3 separate regions of the Homo sapiens genome follow, and regions 1 and 2 are each linked to region 3. The links are contacts of gene promoters, found by promoter capture Hi-C in blood cells and fetal thymus (Javierre and others, 2016). All regions are on one chromosome and are shown on one strand. Each heading gives the region's core, a stretch centred on a gene start or on the middle of the fragment in contact. The rest is flanking DNA. Distances are from core to core; before and after follow the strand shown. Region 1 overlaps RIN2 (Ras and Rab interactor 2). Region 2 overlaps RIN2 (Ras and Rab interactor 2). Region 3 holds the start of NAA20 (N-alpha-acetyltransferase 20, NatB catalytic subunit).

Region 1 (3,052 bases), core at 345-2,844, 230 kb before region 3:
ATCTGTTGTTATGAAGGTTATGGCAAGGATTGGATGAAATAATAGACATAAATGGCTTAATACAATGTCAAGCATATACTGAGTGCTCAATAAGTGGTAGCTAGTGCTATCATTATGTTATGCTTTCTGGATTTTGTATTTTAAGCTCCAGGTCCAGAGACATAGATCTAGTAAGGGGAGGATAGACAGTTCAGGTATTAAACTGCTTGACTCAAGCATGTGCTTACTGGCAACCATGTTACTACCCTATGCATTACACAAGACAATCTCAGATCTACTCCATCTATCCCAGGTGATGGTCTTTTCCAAATAGAGGAAGACTTCCTCTATCAGTAATGTAAAGTACTACACCCCTCCCTAACTTGTATTTCCAAATAAGTTATTGTGTTTTTATTGTAGAATTTAACATTTAGATTAAAAATACTTAGTGCGATCTCAGCAAACTACCATGGAAAGGTAACCACTTGAATCTGACAAAGGGTATGTGCAAGCCATGTTGAATGGTGAAATACTTAATGCTTTCACTCTGATGTATGGAATAACACAAGCGTGCCCTATCACTCTTATTCACTGTCACCTTATAGCATCTATCACTCTGTCATCTGTATTCAACAATATACTGGTAGTCTTACCAGGACACTAAGGCAAGAAAAAGAAAGAAATGTTATTAAAATTAGAAAATAAGAATTGGCCAGGTGCATTGCCTCATGCCTGTAATCCCAGCACTTTGGGGGGCTGAGGCAGGCAGATCACTTAAAGTCAGGAGTTCAAGACTAGCCTGGCCAACATGGCGAAATCCTGTCTCTGCCAAAAAAAAAAAAAAAAACAACTAGCTAGGCATGGTGGCAGGCACCTGTAATCCCAGTTACTTGGAAGGCTGAGGCAGGAGAATCACCTGATCCCAGTAGACAGAGGTTGCAGTGGGCTGGGATGGCACCACTGCACTCCAGCCTGGGCAACAAAGCAAGACTTTGTCTCGAAAAAAAAAAAAAAAATTAAAATTGCCATTACTCAGGAGTTAATATACTAGTAACAAGTAGAAAATTAAATAGAAAATGTGATCTACAGTACCATACAAAAAAAACCTTAACAATAGATATGCAAGAACACCACACTAAAACTACAAAACATTGAGAGAAATTAAAGAAGACCTAAATAGATAGAAGGACATACCATGTTCATGGATTGAGATATTTTAAAGATGTCATTTATCCCCAAAGTGATCTACGGACTCATTAAAATTTCAAATAAGTCCTAGCAGAATTATTTTCTGTTTAAATTGGCAAGTTAATTCCAAACTGTAGGTGAAACTGAAAAATAATTATAAAATTCAAAGCCATATTTAAGAACAACAGCAAATCTGTAGCTCTTACATTACCAATTATTAAGACATGCTATAAAGCTACATAATGAAGACTGTGGCATCAGAACAAGGATAGACAAATAGGTAAATGGAACAGAAGTGAGAGTTCAGAGACAGAGCTACAAGATAATGCAGTATCTTGGCTTACAACAAAGGCTACACTGCAATTAAGCGGGTGTGGAGGCGGGAGAAGAGTCTTTTCCACAGATGGCGCTAGTCAGTTGATATTCCTGAGGAAAAAAATAAAACTTGATTCCTATGCCATACACAAAAATGATTTTATGATGGATCATAGGCTTAAATGTTAAAACTAAAACAATTAACCTTCTAGAAAAAATACAAGAGAAATATCTTCGTGAACTTGGGATATGCGAAGATTTTTTAAAATAATACTTTTAACTTAAGATGTGTGCACTTTACTGTATGTTAATTATACTTCAATAGAATTTCCTCTCCCTTGTCTTTTGTTATGTGACACTCTTAATTTTCTTCCTAGTCCTTTATGATTTCTCTATCTTGCCTAGTTTCTTTTATTTTGTACAAGATTCTTTCTGTGGTTTACTTACTTTCTCTTGCTGCAGTTGGTATCTTGGGCATTTTACCTATTTGTAGCTTTAGCTGCCTGCTCCCTGTAGGTGGCTCCTAATCTTATAACTGTTGTTCCAATCTGCCTCCTCCCATGGGGTCGTAGGACTCTCAGGGACATCCAACTATTGCCTGGTTCCCTGCCATGTGCTTCAGTCCCCTCTATGCATCCCCATGGGTTGTTGTTCAGTCTGTGCTTTAATATTTTTGATGAGGAGAAAATCACCCAGTCCCAAAGTGCTAGCCAGAGATTCCTCACCTCGAGTTGCAATTTGTCTTCCTCTAATTTCTCTCCTTTGGTTCTCCTCTTATCTGTCACTGAGCAAGTCTAATTCCACTCACATGACAGAGGCTTCCCTGCTTTTTCTTTTCTCCAAGTCAATCATCCAAGACTCCTTCAAACATCTTTTCCTAAACATGGTCACATATTTCATTTCTAGCTACTTCTTGACGGGCCCTAATTTTATCACGTTTTTATCAAAATGTGGCACCCAGAATTGAACAGAAGGCTTGAAGGTGATCTGGCCTCTATAGACCATCATTTCCCTCGTTGCAGATGAGTTGTTTTCTGAATATAGACTTATTCATTTGTCTCTAGTAATTCTTCAACTGCCTTTTGGATTTCTCAATCTGGATCTCCCTAGAAACCTCAATTTATTCAAAAATGAAATAATCATACACCCACCGACACCAGCAACTGCCCCAGTCTTACAAGGCTAGCAAGTCAGGTTGCCTGCTTCCCACTCAGATAACTTGATCTCTAGCCTTATTAATTAGGGGGCAGCTATTACTCCACTTGGCTTTCATTCTCTATTTGTGTATGTGGGTTTAGGGAAGGGGACTTTTTATCCTGATACAGAATATCCATTTATTCCTGTTAATTTTTCAACTAATGTTGGATTTTTCAAGTTGGGCTTAACTTATCTAAATCTAGGATAAGCTGGGCTCTGTGGCTTGCACTTGTAGTCCTATCTACTCTGGAGGCTGAGGTAGGAGGATGACATGAGTCCAGGAGGAGTTCAAGGCCAGCCTGGGCAACATAGGGTTACCCCAGCAGTAAAAAAATTAATAAAAATAGAATAATCATCCACTTACCCCAACCAA
Region 2 (3,097 bases), core at 151-2,650, 250 kb before region 3:
CATTTCCCAATGAGCCATTTTAACAGAACCTCTCTGCAAATGAGCATTTCTAAGGGGACACAATTCCCCTGCCCTCCATCTGGAGGAGGAAATGTGAAATCTTGTTTTCCCTGCGGAGCTGCTTCCGCTCAGTCACCACCAAGCTCTGCAACTCATGGCTCTGCCCCCAGCCTCTGTCCCTCTTCCACCTCCTGCTGCCTCCTTCCCAGCAAGAATTCCATGTTTTCACGTATAACCTGTACGTGAAAAAAACAAAAACGTGTTTTTCCTCTGCTCTCACAACAATCACCAACACAGAAGCCTTCTGTGACCAAATGTGTGGGGTTTTTCCCCACACACCAAGTAGTGGACACCAGCTGGGCATCCTCCAGCTCAATTCCCACAGGGTGAGGGCTGAGTCTCACAAGACTGCCCCCACCCCCCCCCCCCACCTTCCCACTAGGGCCGCAAGTCCCGGCCTCCGGATCTGCTGACAGACCCGGCATCAAGTGGGGGTTCCCACAGCCCCTTCTTCGAGTTCAACTAATTTGCTAGAGTAGCTCACAGAGCTCAGGGAAACACAAATATTTATTGGATTATTGTAAAGGATATTGCAAAGGATACAGATGAAGAGAAGCACAGGGGGAGGCCAGCTTCCAAGAAGCTTTCTGAATGCAGGCCTTTGGCGTGTTTGTGGAAGCTTCATTACCTAGGTCTGCCTGGTCAAACCATTGGCTATTGGTGATCAACTTAACCTTCAGCCCCTCTCCTGTCCCTGGAGGTGAGACAGTGGTCAAAGTCCCAGTCCTCTAATCCTGCCTTGGTCTTTCCTGTAACCAGGGACTGCCAGCTGTCAATCAGCTCATTAGCATGCAGAAACATCACTTTGGAGATTCTAAGGATTTTTGGAGTTGTATGGCAGGAAACAGGGTTAAAGACCAGGTATATGTTTCATAATATATCACATAACACCTCCTTTGCGTATTCCTCATTTCTCTTGCCTGGTCTCTCTCAGGGCACTCCCCGAACTCAACCCCAACCCCTGCTGAAGCACACTTCCCCTGGGCTGTCCCTGCACCAGGCAGACGGACATGGCCAGGAAGACCACGGCATCCTTAAGGGATTCACGGCTGTCGGTCTCGAGGGGTCCAGCTCCCTTTCCGTAGTCCATCCACACACCTCTTCGGATCCATCTTCGACATACTTGTTTTTCAAATTACATTTTTATATGCATAGGAGTGAAGGAGAGTTTGGGGAACTAACACTGCTTTGGTATTTCCTTTCTTCTCCTCTCTGATCCTATCCTCTTTCATTTCATTAAAACGCTCTGACAGCAGCTTTTCTAAATTGCTTTCACAACCCACTAATGGGCTTTGAAAAAAACATGCCCTGAATGATTGTTCCACTCCGACTCTCCCTTCTCAAGCCTCCTGCCTCCTCCTGCCTCCTCTTGCCCTCCTCACTCTCTCGTTATTTTGAGACAGGATCTTGCTCTGTTGCACAGAAACTAGAACTAATCTGCAGAACTTCCATGACTCCCAAACACTACCAAGCCACCTGCATGCCGACTGTAGGCTCCAGCTCCCTCCTGCTTCCGTGGATAGAACAGATGCGCGCTCTCAGTTATGCAGTCCACCCAGGCTTCTCTCAGATACTCAAGGGCATTACTGCAGCAATTGTCCCGCTCTTTGCTGGGTCACCAGTTTCTCACCCTGTTTCCTGGGTCATTTCCATCCAGCTGGATTCATACTGTAGTATGGCCCAACTTTAGAGAACCTTCTCTTGACTCCACTTTTACTTCCAGCTCCCACATCTTTTCTCAGCTTTCATTTTACAAAGAACTCTTTACGAGTGCATCGGTGCTCACTGTCCCCAAGTCTCTTCCTCCACTTCTTCCGTTGTACCACTCTAGCCAGGATACTGCCCCCTGAACTGATTTTGTCAAGGTCACCGATGACCCCCCTGTTTTCAAATCCAGTGGTCAGTCTTTGATCCCCATATGATGTGATTTTCTAGCAGCATCTGACATTAAACCAAGGATGGGGCCCTTCTGAATGCAGGGCCCTGTGTGACTGAACAGTTTGGGTGCCACGAAGCCAGCCCTGGAACCATGCTGATCTTGGGTTTCATGTCACAAGAGACACAAGCTTCCACTGACAAGCACTCCAAGATCCCAAGGAATAATCCCAGCAGCTAAAAGGGTCCCGGCACTGCCTGAGCCAGACCTCTGTTCAGGACTTCACATGGCTGCCTCATCTCAGAACCCTGACCAGCCTGTGAGATGATCACTTCGTGCCTCATCCCCCTGGTATGCATGAAGTCGTTTTATGCTTTTTTCCCCAAATTATAGAAACTGAGGCACAGAGAGATGGAGTGATTTGTCTGTAGTCACAAAGCTTGAAAGTGGGGAAGCCACAATTCACTCCTGGTCTGTCAAACACCAGGACCTACACTTGTAGCAATGACTCTGTAATAACCTCAGGGTGTCCCTGTGTAGAAATACAGGCATGCATTAATTTTCTAGGGTTGCTGTAACAAAATACCACAAACAAGGTGGCTCGAAACAACAGAAATTTATTGTCTCACAGTTCTGGAGTCCAGAAGTCTGAAATCAAGGTGTTGGCAGGGCTGTGCTCCCTCTGACGGTGGTAGGGAAGGAGCTGTTCCAGGCCTCCCGGCTTCTGGAAGCCTCAAGCATGCCTTGTAGATGCATCCCTCCAGTCCTCCATGCTCACACATTCTCCCTGAGTGTCCTCACATCGTCCTCCAGGTTTCCCCTTTCCTGTTGGATTGGGGCTCATCTGATGACCTCATCTAAATTAGTTAAATCTGCATAGACCCCATTTCCAAATAAGGTAATATCCAATGCTAGTAGGGGTGAGAACTCCAACATATCTCTTTGTGGGGACACAATTCAACCCATAACTAGGTGTAAAATTAGAAACTGATGAGATATCCAGGAAGTGTGACCAGTGCACACAATCAGAAAATAGAGTCAGGCATTCTCAGCAGTAAATAGCTATTCCAGGTCAAAGGGCTGGGTGTGAGTTGCCTCCATCTTGTCTTGTTCTGCTGTTGTTGGGGAGGCCTTAGCACCTTCTGAGGTGGGTGAAAGCAG
Region 3 (3,505 bases), core at 505-3,004:
ACCATTACCTAGATACAAACATAAAGTAGCTATAAACTTCTAATGTTTATAATACCAATGAATCAGAGCCAAAAATATTATAAAAACCTTCACTACTTCATAAGGAACAAAATTCAAATCAACATTAGTTCATGTCACACACAAAAAATTATGAAACACTTTGAAATGGCCAGAAAAAGATTACTGTTTAGTACACGTTTCCAGGTTTTCTCTGCTTTTTATTGTCTTTGACAATACAAAATTTTACAAATTTGTAAGCTGAGGAAAATTGATAGTAATGAAAATTTTTCTTGTCCATAAAATACAAATGCATAGTGTTATACAGTGCCCAGGAGAGACAGTGATTACAGCTCTGTGGATATTGACCAGTTTAACACTCATGTGTAAATACATTTCAGCATTCCTGCTTGCTTTATGTATTTTATCTCTCTTTATCTTATCTTTTTGAGACAGGGTCTTGGTGTGTCACCCAGGCTGGAGTGCAGTGGTGCAATCATGTCTCAGAGCAACCTCTACCTCCCGGGCTCAAATGATCCTCCCACCTCAGCCTCCCAAGTAGCTGGGATTACAGGTGTGAGCCACTGTGTCTGGTCTGAATAAAGGAATTTTTAACTTTTAATTTTAACTACTTTAAATTTAAAAACTGATGTTTGGTTCAGCGATTTGAAAACAGTATATTTGGAACCGCTTGGATATGAGAATCTGCTTTTTAACCATACATTGATGAAATCTAAATAGAGAACAAGCATTTCCGATGACAGCTGCTCTCTCAGATTGAAATGCACTGCAAATGTAAAATACACACCGGATTTCAAAGTCTTTGCAAAAAAGAATGTAACATATCACATTCCTTTTTTTATTGATTGATTACATGTTGAGTATTGATTGGTTACATGTTGAAATGATATTTCGGGTATAATAAAGTGGGGTCAGGGAAAAATATTTTTCCCAAATAGGAAAAATAAATGGGTAAAATAAAGCGTACTATCAAAATCAATTTTACATTTCGTTTTGCTTTTATTTATTTATTATTTATTTTTGAGACCAAGTCTAGCTCTGTCGCCCAGGCTGGAGTGCAGTGGCGAGATCTCGGCTCACTGCAACCTCCGCCTCCTGGGTTCAAGCGATTCTCCTGCCTCAGCCTCCAAGTAGCTGGGATTAGAGGCGCGTGCCACCACGCCCAGCTAATTTTTATTTCTTTCCTTTTTTTTTTTTTTTTAGTAGAGAGGGGGTTTCGCCATGTTGGCCAGGTTGGTCTCGAACTGCTGAACTCAAGTGATCTGCCCGCCTTGGCCTCCCAGTGTTGGGATTACAGGCGTGAGCCACCGCGCCCGGCCTTCTTTTTGTTTTTAAACGTGGTATTGACATTTTAAGATGACATCTGCAACTCGCAACACTGGGACAAGGGATTCTGGGTCATAAATTCTCCCATTCCTCATTTACTCTGCAGCACCGGGTGGCTGCGAACTCCGCTCTTCTGCTTGGGTTTCCGCATCACCAGCAGCTTCTTTCCTTCCCAGGTGTCGCCGCCTGCTTTCTGCAGCCGCTGCCTGGGAGGGGTTCCGAGGTTCTGGGCAGCCACAGCCCCGGAGGCCTTACAGGAGCGACCTGGCAATTCCCGCCGCCGGCCGCCAGAGGAAGCTGCTTTGCTGCTGTCGTTGCCCAGCAACTCGTAGCCCGGAAGCAGTACCCCGTCTCGCTCGGTTCCGCGGCGGCCACGCTCCGGGAGACTTCCGGCAGGGCGGGCGCGGGGTCTTGGCGAACGGTCTTCGGAAGCGGCGGCGGCGCGATGACCACGCTACGGGCCTTTACCTGCGACGACCTGTTCCGCTTCAACAACATGTGAGTGACACGCGCCTAGGGCCAGCCGCTCTTGGCCGGGCCTCGCTTCCCGGCCCCGCCAGCTCCGGCCCCAGCCGCGCCTTCCCGGCCGGACCCCAAGCCCGGACGGGGACCCGCGAGAACCACCCCCCGCCGGCCAACGTGGGCGCCTCCCTGGGGCCACAGGGTCCAGGGAGAGGTGGGCCTGGAGTCGACGCACGCCGGCCTTGGCGACCTTGGCCGAGGTGCTCAAACTTTGTCTCTGGACCCTGCGAGCTGGCAGGTTCTGGGGCAGCGCTCGGGCCTCCGCTCGTGGTCGCTGTCAGGAGGCGCTGGGGTGATGGGGCGAGCTGGAGACGCGGCCTGGAGCCCACGACCTGGGCTTCTCGCCCTGCCCTACTGCTTGCTGGTTCGTGGCCGGGCCGCGCCTCTTCTGGGCAGAGGGCACCGCCGACGGCCAGGCCGCAGAGGGGGCTTGCGAGGATCGGAAGCTGGTCAGCAGCTGTTGGGATGTGTACATCGTGAAGCCCACCTGGTGGCCGTGGTTAAATTGTATCCAAATGAAATGACACTGATCACTGCGTCCCCTGCAGCAGATGCTGTCTCAGTCATGGTTAGTGTTTGCAAGTTTAGTTACTGTAGCTGCGCACCCCGGTGTACACACCTTTCCTCTGTGAGGAGTCACGGCAGATCTTAGGGGAGGCTCGCTGTGCCCAGAGCCCTGGATGCAGTTTCTTTGGATTCGAGTTAAGGCCAGACCTCTGATTTGCAGGTACCAATTTTTTTTTTTTAAGAAAACATTTTATTATGAAGATTCCCACACATTTAGAAAAGTTGGAGGAATTTCACCATGTGCTTTTATAGACACTTTTCCTGGATTCTGCAGTTAACATTTTGCTACGCTGGTATCTCTCCTTCCTTCCCATCTATCAGTCCTGGATCCACTTTAAAAAAACAACAGGGCGGTATGTGAAAACTAAGGACAAAGTGGTTCCGATTCAAGTGTCAGGAAGATGGAAAGAACTATGGGATAAGATGGCTGGGAACATTTCAAAGAGGGGGTGAGCCTTGAAGATGGATAACACATTGGTAAGTGAGGAAGACGGAAGTTCCGGAGAAGGAGCGGGGCATGAAAATGGGGAAACTTGAAGTGCGGTCAGACAACTGGGATCAGTGCGAATCTAGTGGCTGGTTTCTGCCACTGAGCAGTCAGGAAGAAATGGGTGAAACAGGAGGGGTTTAGACTTGATCCTGTGGAAAGAATTTTCTGTTGGGCCAGTCTGGTAGCTACGGTGACTTGTGTTGAACTCACTGTTCCCTGCATTGTTCTGAGTGCCCACGTAATAATCCAGTTAATCCTCACGATTCTTTGAGGTGCTGTCACCCCCATTTTGTGTATGAGTAAACCAAGGCATGGCAAGCACAAGTGAATTGGCCCAGGTGAGAATGAGTAAAGCGAGGAACTTCATCCAAGGATATTGGCTCTGGAGCAGTGGTTCTGAAAGACTTGGTGCCTGTGGTCAGGGGACCATGTTAGAAACGCACATTCCGTTTGCGATCCACTGCTCTGGAGTGGGTCTTAACCCACCTGGAGCCTCTGGAGAGGCTCACCCTCTCTTTAAAGTGTTCCCAGCCATCTCATCCCATAGTCCTTTCTATCCTCCTGACCCTTGAATCGGAACCA

Evidence for each region. Contacts are between HindIII fragments. The CHiCAGO score rates a contact against its expected background, and 5 or more counts as called.
Region 1: a contact is called between a fragment that was not itself captured here and the fragment with the promoter of NAA20 in region 3, in 3 of 17 cell types (naive B cells, M1 macrophages and total B cells). The highest score is 7.6, in naive B cells.
Region 2: a contact is called between a fragment that was not itself captured here and the fragment with the promoter of NAA20 in region 3, in 2 of 17 cell types (endothelial precursors and naive B cells). The highest score is 7.5, in endothelial precursors.

What each region holds. Positions count from the first base shown.
Region 1 is chr20:19,787,624-19,790,675 of GRCh38, forward strand. All of the region lies in intron 1 of RIN2 (Ras and Rab interactor 2), which reads left to right. Among named protein-coding and RNA genes, the nearest start is that of RIN2, 31 kb to the left of the region's middle. The HindIII fragment of the contact is 4,608 bases long and covers 1-3,052 here.
Region 2 is chr20:19,770,457-19,773,553 of GRCh38, forward strand. All of the region lies in intron 1 of RIN2 (Ras and Rab interactor 2), which reads left to right. Among named protein-coding and RNA genes, the nearest start is that of RIN2, 14 kb to the left of the region's middle. The HindIII fragment of the contact is 1,447 bases long and covers 678-2,124 here.
Region 3 is chr20:20,015,608-20,019,112 of GRCh38, forward strand. NAA20 (N-alpha-acetyltransferase 20, NatB catalytic subunit) reads left to right here and starts at 1,755. Exons shown (of 6, transcript NM_016100.5): 1 at 1,755-1,842. The coding sequence starts at 1,790. RefSeq lists enhancers at 1,262-1,441, 2,056-2,556, 3,018-3,505 and silencers at 1,762-1,831, 1,882-2,001. The HindIII fragment of the contact is 8,583 bases long and covers 1-3,505 here.